2 separate regions of the Homo sapiens genome follow, and region 1 is linked to region 2. Evidence: promoter capture Hi-C in 16 types of primary human blood cells and fetal thymus (Javierre and others, 2016). All regions are on one chromosome and are shown on one strand. The core of a region is centred on a gene start or on the middle of the fragment in contact, and the rest is flanking DNA. Distances in the headings are between cores, read along the strand shown. Region 1 has its middle 130 kb from the start of LMNTD1. Region 2 holds the start of RASSF8 (Ras association domain family member 8).

Region 1 (6,056 bases), core at 2,621-5,120, 280 kb after region 2:
GAGTGCTGATTGGTGCATCCACAAACCCTGAGCTAGACACAGAGTGCTGATTGGTGCATATACAATCCTCTGGCTAGACATAAAAGTTCTCCAAGTCCCCACCTGACTCAGGAGCCCAGCTGGCTTGGCCTAGTAAGTCGCCTGCCAGGGCTGCGGGCAGAGCTGCCCGCCAGTCCTGCACCACGCACCTGCACTCCTTAGCCCTTGGGCAGTCGATGGGACCTGGCCAGCGGAGCAGGGGACAGCGCCCATCAGGGAGGCTCGGGCCTTGCAGGAGCCCACTGCGGGGAGTGGGGGGCTCAGGCATGGCAGGCTGCAGATCCCCGAGCCCTGACCCGCAGGGAGGCGGCTGAGGCCCGGCGAGAATTCGAGCATGGCGCAGGCAGGCCAGCAGTGCTCAGGGAGCCGGTGCCCCCTTCCGCAGCTGCTGGCCCAGGTGCTAAGCCCCTCACTGCCTGGGGCCCGCAGTGCTGGCCGGCTGGCCGCTCAGAGCCCATTTAGCTGGAAATACTGTGTAGTTATGGTGTGTAAATGGGCAAAAAGAGACTAGTTAACAAAATATTATCAGGTTATAATTTTATACATAGTAATAATTGAGTCTTTCGTTACTTTACAGATCAGTACCAATGAGAGAGATTGACTCGTTTCCTAGGCTGACCACCCATCTCAGTTTGCAGGACTTTCAGTGCTAAAATTGAGAGATAATTTACTAAAAACTGATTATTTGCAAAGATTGTCACTAACACTCAGGTACCACATCTATGTGATCTTAACACGTTTTTAAAGTTCATTCAATACATTAAAGGAAAGTTCATTACACAGATTATCGATAGTGTAGTTTTGATGTAGAGTGAAGCATTCTTGTGCATTAGATGTTAATGGTATGGTTTGGGATCTATCAGAGACACAACAAATATTTATTCTTAGCAAGTCAGAGCAGAGGGCAGTGTTGTTAATCTGATATTCACCCCTTAGTAATATAGGCCTGGCCCAAGAATACCTGTGCCAATTCTACGGCTGATAGGATGGATCCACCAGGGAGGCAGAAAGCACCAAGATTCAAGGTTGTAGCTGCCTCCAGCAAATGGGCAGCCACCAAAGTCCATGATGCAAGTCTAGAGAGATTAACAGCCTGCATCCAGTTGGCTTGTGTAGAGGAATTAAGGTGCATGCAAAAGTAATTGTGGTTTTTGCGTTGTTGGAATTTGCCATTTTATATTAGAATACATTCTTAAATAAATGTGGTTAGGTTATACATCATTTTAATGGGCATGCCTCCCTTTATGATTTTTTGCTAATGGCTTATTACTTGCTTTTTATTTTATGTTTATTTTAGACTATGGAAATAATGTTAGAGAAAAAGCAAATTCAAGCGACTTCCTTATTGGAATTCAAATGGGTCGTAAAGCAGCAGAGACAACTCTCAACATCAACAATGCATCTGGCCCAGGAACTGCTAATGAACATACAGGGCAGTGGTGGTTCAAGAAGTTTTGCAAAGGAGAGCCTTGAAGACCAGGGTAGTGACCAGTCATCGGAAGTTGACAACGACCAACTGAGAGCAATCATCAAAGCTGATCCTCTTACAGCTACAAGAGAATTTGCTGAAGAACTCAACTTCAACCATTCTATGGTCTTTTGGCATTTGAAGCAAATTGGAATGATGAAAAAGCTTGATAAGTGGGTGCCTCATGAGCTGACCTAAAAAAAAATCATCATTTTGAAGTGTCATCTTCTCTTATTCTACACAACAACAATGAACCATTTCTTGATCGGATTGTGACATGCGACGAAAAGTGGATTTTATATGACAACCAGCGATGACCAGCTTGGTGGCTGCAGTGAGAAGAAGCTCCAAAGTGCTTCCCAAAGCCAAAAAAAAAAAAAAGGTCATGGTCCCTGTTTGGTTGTCTGCTGCCCATCTGATCCACTACAGTTTTCTGAATCTTGGCAAAACCATTATATCTGGGAAATATGCTCAGCAAATTGATGAGACGCACTGAAAACTGCAACGCCTGCAGCTGGCATTGGTCAACAGAAAGGACCCAATTCCTCTCCAAGACAACGCTCGACTGCACATTGCACAACCAGCGCTTCAAAAGTTGAACTAATTGGGCTACCAAGTTTTGCCTCATCTGTCATATTCACCTGACCACTCGCCAACCAACTACCAATTCTTCAAGCATCTCGACAACTTTTTGCAGGGAAAACACTTCCAAAACCAGCAGGATGCAGAAAAATGCTTTCCAAGAGATCGTCGAATCCCAAAGCAGGGATTTTTATGCTACAGGAAAAAAGAAACTTATTTCTTATTGGCAAAAATGTGTTGATTGTAATGGTTCCTATTCTGATTAATAAAGATGTGTTTGAGCCTAGTTATAATGTTTTAAAATTCACAGTCTGAAACAACAATTACTTTTGCACCAATCTAATAGAAGGGACCTTGGCCCTGAATTGAAATGCAGAGCAAAGCTTTAGTTCTCAGGCAGCAGAGTCAGCAAGAGCAAAGGAGGGCTGGTTCTCAAAGGCAAGGCAAGTACAAGAGGCCCATTGTCAGGATGGAGACATCACAGGGGAGTGAGAGGCAGAGTGTGGACCAGCATGCTGGGGCCTTGCACCCTGATGGAGGGCAGGCAGCGAGATGTTTACCAACATAACAACAAGCCATGGACCATCTCCAAGGACATTTAGCATTACATTTTTCCTGAGTGTGACGAGATCAAGGGTCCCAAGTCCTTTAAATACTCTCTATCTGGGAAAGGTAGTACTGAACATCTATGTGGGAAGATCATCAGAACCAGACAGAGGAAGAGGGGAAGACAAGAAAAGGCAAAATGGGGTTCACTAATTGCCAAGTGCAGCATCTCCTCCTTCAGTTCCTGAGGGTTTGGGAGTTCTGAGAATGGAAGTGCAGAGAGGCCAATCCTGGAGTCACAGGAGGTTTCCACCCACTCACTCAGTGGGTTATGTATATGGAGTAAATGTAAAATATTGCATTGACACATGTCACCGTCTTCTGCTCCCCAATCTCAGTTCTGCTGGAGAACAGGTGCTGGGGGTGGGTAGGATTCCTCCTGGGACAAGGGCTTGGAGACTGTGGGACTTGGGCACAGAGCTCCATGTCACCTGACATGATGGAGGCAAATGCCAATAGGTGTTTTATCCCTAAAGGGAGAGGAAACGAAGGGACTTGACAAGGCTGTCATCCTTTCTCATCAAGTAGAATGTCTTTTACAATGAGGTCAGCAGTCTATTTATTTTCCAGTTAATGAAACGTTTGGGGTGGGGAGGAAGGAAGCTGTGCTTTGTAAAATTTCGGTGTTGGGGTTCACAGTCCTGCATATTTTTTGAACCCACATAAAAACACATCTGATTTGAAGTAGGCTGGTGTTGAAATATGATGTTGTGAACCACACCACCACACACGAAAACCTTGTGGAATAAAAGGCCTTGTAAAATTCCTGTTAAAATACTATGTTTTGTACAAGGGCATCTTATAGAACGTTTCAAATGACTGGAGGGGAATTACAGAGATTAATCATCTTATAAGCACCAATTAATGTGACTGTATGTTATTGGTGTCTCACTGGACAATCAATTTTTAAAAAGAAATAAAAATTTCTGGGAGCTACATTGCTTTGCTTCAGCTAGTGACTGTTTATTATTCCTTGGCTGAACTACTTGCTGATTTATATCCTTAAAACTGAATCCTTACAATTGTTTCCTTTATTTGGAAATCCAGTTGTAGATTTAATACTCTGCAGTCAGTTTTCTTAAAGGGAAGATCTAGAAACAAAGAAATAATAGAATTTTCCAGAATCGACTCTGTAGATTAAGTTCTAAGTGTACATTCTTTGGGCATCTACTTCCAGGTCTCCTTTCACCCCCAGGCTTCCCCTGTTACTCCAAAGTCCTGCACTGAGGTCACACTTTTTGCTACCCTTTTAAGGTAGATAATCCTGGGGTGTTACTATCTTTTTTACTCTCTTCATCTGTTTTCTCTGGACCATCTACTCAACAGCCATTGCTTCAGCTAACATCGCTAAACTGATTACTCCAAATTTATAGTTTTACCTCAGACTCTCTCTAAAGCTCTCAACTGCCTTCTTGATACCTTCCCTGAGAAGTGTCATTGGCACTGGAAATTCAACATGCCAAGACCAGACTGGTCATCATCTATTTCTCTTTTATTCCCTATTTCAGGAAATGACATCACCACCAATTGGCTGACCAGGCCAGAACTTTGTGAATTGTTTCAGACTTTGCTGTCCCTACAAAATTACCTTCCACAACAAGCAATTTTTTATAGTCCACAGTGAGGGTCTCATAAGAGGTCCTGCAAATTCCCTCCTGCCAAGTGTGGCCCCTGATCCTCCTCACACTAAAGCACCAGTGTTCTTGCAGTGCTAAAGCACTCTCTGGGTCATAGTGTCTTAGAGAAAGACCAAAGTGAAACCTTCCCCCACCTCATTTTCTCTTCTTCTTATCAAGATATGAGCTTATGAGGACAGAGGGACTTCTGAGGATAGCTACCAAACTGCATGCATAATCATTCCTCTCTTCTAACTGCAAATGTGTTTCTTGATCAAGCTGATCATTCTGACTCTTTAAAAGATGTTTTAGGCTGTCGCTTTCTCACACATGTTCAGAATGTCTGAACCACTTTGGGTTCAGGCTAGGATGTCAATCTTGGATGTAGATAAATGACAGGTGTACTTTGAGGCTCTAGGCAGCACCTGGATATCCTTGTTTACCAGGTAGGTAGCTATGATTCAGGGACTGGTTGGAAAATGATGTTTACCTGTCAAATAACAGCAGTTCAAGTAGATTTCCTCATACCAACAACGCTTTGACATCTCACATCAAAAACTCAGAAAGAGGCTCCTTTTCCAAGATGCCTGGAAGTACAGCTCTTTGCTAAGCGAAGTCATTTTAGATGCAGTTCTTTAGCGAGTTCTGCCAGAGCTCTGCCCACTAGAAGAAAGGATTATGAACACTTACTTTGTATGATGTGGTCTTGAGGCAGCAGTAATTTATCCCTAAGGCTCTGTTGAACAAGGGCTGTGTCACCCACTAAATAGGGACATGTGAAAACGTCTATTGCTCATATTGTCTGGTGATTTCACTTTGAGTCGTTGCTGCATTTCAACCAACTTTCAAGTGACTTTTTTGTTCTTCAATAACTACCCTAAATGTTACACTATTATCATAAAACAAAAGACCTGAGAATCCTTTCTGTCATTTTTGTATGAAACTAATTTAAGCTTTTCAGAAATTTGTGGCCCTTTCGTATTAACAAATACATATCATCTTCAATGCCTCAGTCATTTCACAGCCATATATTGAAATATTCAACTTAAGATATTTCTAATTAAATGAATGAAAAACTATGGATACAACTAACTAAAAATGGCTTTTCTCTGACAACTTTACTTGAATCACCATACTTTTAAACAAAGGCCATTTCATTTTTCCTCCCTGCTTCTTGTATCAAGTTTAAGAATCAATGCCAGCATCTTTTTCTTACCTTTGACCATTTCCTCCTCTTTAACTCAATATCTCTTCCTTTTGAAGTCCATGATGTCTGATTATATGACACCGCCCCACATCCTATCTCTGCCTCTGTTGGTCCTTTATCATCTCCATGTTTTTGAAGAACAAGAAGGCCATGTGCTCAGAGAATAGAGAGTGGATTATGCCGGGTAAGTTGGAGATGTTGGAGGGCTAAATCATAAGGACCTGGTGGGCTGTGTTGAGAACTTTGGTCCTTATTTTAAAAGCAGTCAGAAACCTTTTAAGGTTCTTAAAAGGGTAAAATGATACCTGATATGGTTTTTATTTTTTTGGAGACAGGGTTTCACTCTGTCTCCCAAACTGGAGTGCAGTGGTGCGATCTCAGTTCACTGCAACCTCCACCTGCCAGACTCCAGCAATCCTCCCAACTCAGCCTCCTGAGTAGCTGGGACCACAGGCACATGCCACCACACCTGGCTAATATTTGTATTTTTGGTAAAGATAGGGTTTCGCCATGTTGCCCAGGCTGGTCCTGAACTCCT
Region 2 (5,741 bases), core at 1,661-4,160:
CACTCACCTCGGGAGTGACAAAGTCACACGTGCAACCCAAGTCTGGCTGGCAGTGGGGTAAACATTCTTTCCACTATACAGAATACTTGGAAACTCTCTCTACACTTTGAATTTTTAAGTCTATTTAGGGTTAGAGCAAGTTAGCATCAAAGAAGAGTAAATAAACGTTATATTATTTTGTAATCCAAATCTTTAATTTATGATGCATGTTTTTCTATCCAACTCCCATTCCCACTCCACTTTTACTTGCAAAGAGTTTTGTAATGTTTTGAACACTAGCAAGATATCTAAGATCTTAATGTTTTATAATAAAGGAGCAAAGCCATTATGCCAGGAATTAACCATAAGAAAAAGACAACAATATCCCACGGCAAACAATATTTTTACTTCCAAGTCATTATATACATCAACATAAAACAGATCAATTAATGAGTCAGAAACCCTGAAGAACTAATCATTTCTCAAAACACAAGGCAGTCAGGTCAAAAACTGACGTAAGTCACCACGTATAGAAGCCTACAAGAGCCAAACACTGAAGATTCAGGTTAAAAGGTTGCAACCTTAAAAAAATAAATAAAAGGCAAAACAAATTATACAACCATGTCGAATTTTAAATCTGTAATTACCAAATATCTGAACCAAATGCCAAATTCAGGAAACATGCATCCTATAAACAACTTAAACACTCTCTGTTCTTTGTAACTGTTTTTTCCAGAAGCACACTGACACTTCTGCAAAGTGAAGTGCCTTTCCTGCCTGCACAGCCCCATGATTTGCTCCCTCTCAGGGCCCTCTAATGCACCCCTAAGCTACTAAAGCCCAGACATAAGATTTGATCAATAAACCTAGAAAGAACTCAGTGCATTACTGCCAATTGTGTCCATCACAGAAAGTACCACCTGGAGACTCTTGAGGAAAAAAATGAGGAAGGGGGAGATTTTTGAAAGGTTTTATCATCTGTATTACAAATTATATTTTGTTGTACTTGATCCTTGAATAGAATAATCATCAAACTATGTTCAGTCTTCTTCAAGTGGGGGATGGTCATGTGTAATTTTATGGTTTGGGGAGTGTGCCTCATAGAGATAAATAAAATTAAAAGTACCATTAGTATGCCCGCTAAAAGATAAAACTCACACAAACCACTTCCCCAAATGATAGTGCTGTCTCCTGCGTCCTGATTTTTGCGTCCACCCTGCACCTCTCCCTGCAGAAAGCTGGCTGGCATTCACTACCGCCTCACTCTGGCAAAGGACAGGATGTCGAAAACCCATTAAGAAAGCTTCTCATTTTCTGTTCCTTCATAACATGATGGCAACTCCTGGCAACTCCAAGATGAAAGGCAAAAAAGAAAATAAAAACTACCTGGGGCCCCCTACCAGAATGAGTGGTTAATCTAATGGAGAGAAAAGCAGAGATTTATACATATTTTAAAATGCTTCCTGGGGACAAAGCAGATCTAATGAATTGCTGAGCCACAATCTACTGGAAAATCCATAAATGTTCGTCCCTGCTGTCACAGGGCTAGAGGATTTTTTTTTTTAATGAAATGCTTTAATGCTAACCTGACAGGGCTAACCTGACAGGTTTAAGTCAGCTATGAGACGTGATTTGCATTCATTTCGCTTCTAAATCCCTAAAGATCAGCAACAATATTGACCCGCAATTATATATCCTACGTTGCACTGTTCAAGATGCCATTTGAGGCTGGGAAAGTAGTGGTTTAGCAACACCAGGCGGCTCTATGATGCTAAAATAACAACGCAACACTGGATTCCGAACCCAAGTACTCATCTTTTAAAACCCAGTGCCGCACCAGGACCCACATTCAAAGCTCGCGTCCCTTCAAGTTGAATCTTCCGGCTTTGTGCGATTTACCCTCTCAAACTTTCTAGTTTGCAAGTCAGAATTACTTTGAACGTCCCCTCTTCTGGACTCCCCTCCCCAAAGGGACTGGCGGCAAAGGAGAATAGAATGCAGATGGTTAATAGTTCAAATGAAATTTAAAAACCTATAAACCAATATTTTTTTAGAGGAGAAAAGCGTTCACCAAACCGCCACCCGGCAAGCGAGCATCCGATTTCCATCCGGAGGAAAAAATATTTTAAAAACCAGACATAAAATTCCCTTTGCAAGAAAAGTGGCCTCTAAACTCCCTTGCCAAGGACACTGGGAGGAAGCAGAAAAGCAAAGACCAAGCTCGTACTTTTCAGTCCGCGGCTTGTGTGCCGCGAGGAGAGGCGCAAAGGGTGACACACCAGGAAAGGTGAACGCAGAGGGAGCGGGAGCCCGCGGCGGGGCAGGGTGGGGGCGGAACGGACGAGGTACCCAAGGTGCGGAGAGAGGGGCAACCGGGCGGAGGGCAGCTCCGAGGCTGCAGGCGGGACGGGCGGGGTCCCCGGCGCAGCCCGGATCGCCGCCGCTAAGTAAAGTTAATACTTACTCAGTTTCGCAACTGCGCCGCCCCCGCAGGCCGCCCAGAGGGGCCGGCCGGGGCGCTGGGGACGCGGCGGCACCCGGAGCTCCGCGGCCGCCCAGCGCCCGTCCCCGCGCCGCACTCCCCGGCACTCCCCGGCGCTCCCCGCGCCGCGCGCCCCGCACCGGCTGGAGGCCCCGGCCCCCCGGCGTTCCCTCTCCGCGCACCTCCCGGCCCGCGCTAGGTGAGTGTGGACGCCACTGGCGGGGGTGCCGCGGTGCGCGAGCGCTCGGCCAGCGGCAGAGACGCCGCGGGAGCCGCCCCCAGCGCCAACGCCGCCGCGGGCGGGAAGGGCGAGGCTCGGCGAGGCTGGGCGAGGAGCTGGGCGGCAGACGCTGAGCGGGGCGCGGCGCGGGGCGCCGGACGAGCGCGGGCGTAGGAGGAGCGCGGGCGTAGGAGTCGGCGACCCGCTCGCTCCCGCGGCCGGTGCCTCTGGGCTGGGGGCCGGGCTGGGGGCCGGGCCGGGCCGGGCCGGGCCGGGCGGCCAGGCGGCTCCGCCCCTTCGCCGGGCAGCGGCTGAGCGCGCGAGAGGAGCGGCGCGGGGGCGCCCCCCTCGGCCGGGCGCTCGGGTTTCAGCCGCCGCTCCTCCGCGCCCCGCCCGCGCCTGGCCCGCTCGCCGGCGCCGGGAGAGACCTCGTAACGGAACTGGGACGCCAGCGCTGCATTGTGGGAGCTTTTAAAGCGGCGGGGAGCTCGGCGCGACCCTCGGGCCCACCGGGCCACGCTCGCCCGGCCCGCGACGCCCCCCCGCTGTCGCCTGGCCCGCGACGCACCGAGGCCTGAGGACCCGAAAGCCGGGCGCGGGGAGATGACCGGTGGCTCGTGACGGTCCCACGGGCAAAATCTTCCATCGCCCGGGGCTGAGACTTGTCAAACTGCCCTCTACGGTCACCCGGAAAGTAGGAGGCTTTTTCTGCAGAGGGGAAAAAAATCAAAAAGAGCCGTTCCATCCCCCCTCCAAGGACTGGGTTTGAATTGCTTTTCATCTGCAGTGGCTGTGATTCAGCGTCCCTCTTAGCAGCAGGCAATGACAGAGGCAGGAGAGGGGAAAAAAAAAAAGAAAGAAAGAAAAAACACAGCAAATGAATCAAACGGACGTGAGTAACAAAAGTTTAGAAAGAGCTGGGCTCGTATTCAGAAAAAACGCCTCATCCCCCCGCCCCGCTGCACTCCCAACCCCTTTAAAAATAGCAGATAATCAAGAAAGGAAACGGGTGCTTTCATATGGAAATACAGATGTGTATGTTGTTTTCAATATTCTACTGTTTTTTTGTGTGTGGCATGCAATTACTCAGGCACTGGGCAAAATTCAGCCTTTGGATTTTGTGGTCACACATACCCCAACTCCGCAACAGCTATTAATTTGCAGGGCGATGGGGTGCGGATAGTGGATGAGATACAAGAAAGCATTCCAATTAAAATGCCCCCCCCCACCCCGCCTTTTAATTTTCCAGACACTTGCTTTTATTTTTCTTTTTTTAAACATCATCAAAACAAGAATATTAAACTTGAAGCAGAATTTGTTACAGCGTATCTGACTCAGGACCTGATTTAAGGTTTGGGGTTTTTTGGCCCTTTGTTTCTTCCTCTTGTTTTTTGACCTTTAGTTACTCCACACCTCATTAGTTCCTTGACCTGCAGGTGGACTGAGAAGAGAGCCATGGTAAGACTCAAATTTGTCAAATCAACATTTGGAGAGGAGAAAGTTCACTGTGATTCAAATGCAAAACCAAAGGGAATATGATTTAAAAGTCAACCTGGAGGGCATGGATCCTCCCTTAACCCTACTTGACTCTTTTCAAAGGAGTTGCCTAGCCTTAAGGTGAATGTTTCCTAACCTCTCATTCCCTTCTCAGCCTTTCACTCCACTGAACAACATCAGCCATTGCTTAATTGCCAAATCTAATGGAAAAATTTAATTCCCATCTTGTGCCCTTTGTGGCATTTGCCAATGTTGACCTCTCCTTCTTAGAACTTTCTGCCTTTTGGCCGGGCGCGGTGGCTCATGCCTATAACCCCAGCACTTTGGGAGGCCAAGGCTGGCAGATTGCCTGAGGTTGGGAGTTCGAGACCAGCCTGACCAACATGGAGAAACCCCGTCTCTACTAAAAATACAAAATTAGCCGGGCATGGTGGCACATGCCTGCAATCCCAGCAACTGGGAGGCTGAGGCAGGAGAATCGCTTGAACCTGGGAGGCAGAGGTTGCAGTGAGCCGAGATCACGCCATTGCACCCCAGCCTGGGCAACAAGAGCGAAACTCCATCTCAAAAAAAAAAAAAAAAAAAAAAAAAAAACTTTCCTCCTTTCTTTGGCTGTGGTAGTGATCCCTCTTTTGTGTACTTCTTGAAGCAGGTAGCAGGCAAGAGTGTGGTTATCGTTGGACCAGGATTCAGGATCTGACTGAGTAGCTGACTCTTAATCCAGTTTGTGTTGATCACCAGGAGGATCTGGACCTCAGTATTACCACATCTAGAGGTGAGCAAGTTGACTGACTCTTGATAACTAACTCTTATATGATGAGCATTTATATCAGGACAGAACTTCCTGATTGGATAACAATACCTACTATTTAGGAAAAACCCTTCCTAAAAATCCAGGTATCCTCACCTCCAGTCTTACTGATGGCTGCCAAAGTCAGTGAATTTGCCTCCATTCAGTGCTGGATAAGTGCAGAAAAATCTTTACCCTACCTAGCCCATTTGGTTAATGCGTTCTTTCTTCAGAGTGTAGTACAATTTGTTTTAAGCTTTTTTTTTTTTTTGGTAGCTATAATCACATCCCTGTTAAGCCTTCCTGAGATCACACCAAATGTCCTTGATGGGAATTGTAAACAACCCTTACTTCTGGTTTCTAATGATATTCCAGGAAAGGAGCCTAACTAGAGTCAGTGAGTATTCATGCACTTCAAACCCTGTGACATAATAAGATTTGATTTTTAAGAAAACAACTTGAGAGGATGGATTCAGAAAAGAGGCAGATCCAAGGGAGAGTCTAAACTGGAGAGCAGTGGCAATGAACAGGAGGAGGCCATATCGAGAGATGAATTGATCATCTTATAGACCTGGAGGTCAGAAATCTAAAATCAAAGTGTGGGCTGTGTTCCTTCTGGAGGATCGAGGGGAGAATCCATTTCCTTGCCCTTTTCAGCCTCTAGATGCCACCTGCATTCCTTGGCTTATAGTCCCTTTCTCTATGTTTAAGGCCAACTGCATAGCATCTTCCCCCATTTCTTTGTAACTTCTGCTTCATGGTGATGGGGACAT

What was found. The method cuts DNA at HindIII sites, captures the fragments that hold promoters and counts their contacts. A CHiCAGO score of 5 or more calls a contact.
Region 1: a contact is called between a fragment that was not itself captured here and the fragment with the promoter of RASSF8 in region 2, in 1 of 17 cell types (endothelial precursors). The highest score is 5.6, in endothelial precursors.

What each region holds. Positions count from the first base shown.
Region 1 is chr12:25,680,770-25,686,825 of GRCh38, reverse strand. No RefSeq gene overlaps it. Among named protein-coding and RNA genes, the nearest start is that of LMNTD1, 130 kb to the right of the region's middle. The HindIII fragment of the contact is 2,792 bases long and covers 2,475-5,266 here.
Region 2 is chr12:25,955,851-25,961,591 of GRCh38, reverse strand. RASSF8 (Ras association domain family member 8) reads right to left here and starts at 2,910. Exons shown (of 6, transcript NM_001394098.1): 1 at 2,444-2,910. It overlaps RASSF8-AS1 (RASSF8 antisense RNA 1), which reads left to right and starts at 2,150. Exons shown (of 4, transcript NR_038228.1): 1 at 2,150-2,266; 2 at 4,828-4,953; 3 at 5,245-5,365. RefSeq lists silencers at 2,299-2,348, 2,489-2,538, 2,609-2,708, 2,809-3,298. The HindIII fragment of the contact is 3,942 bases long and covers 1,285-5,226 here.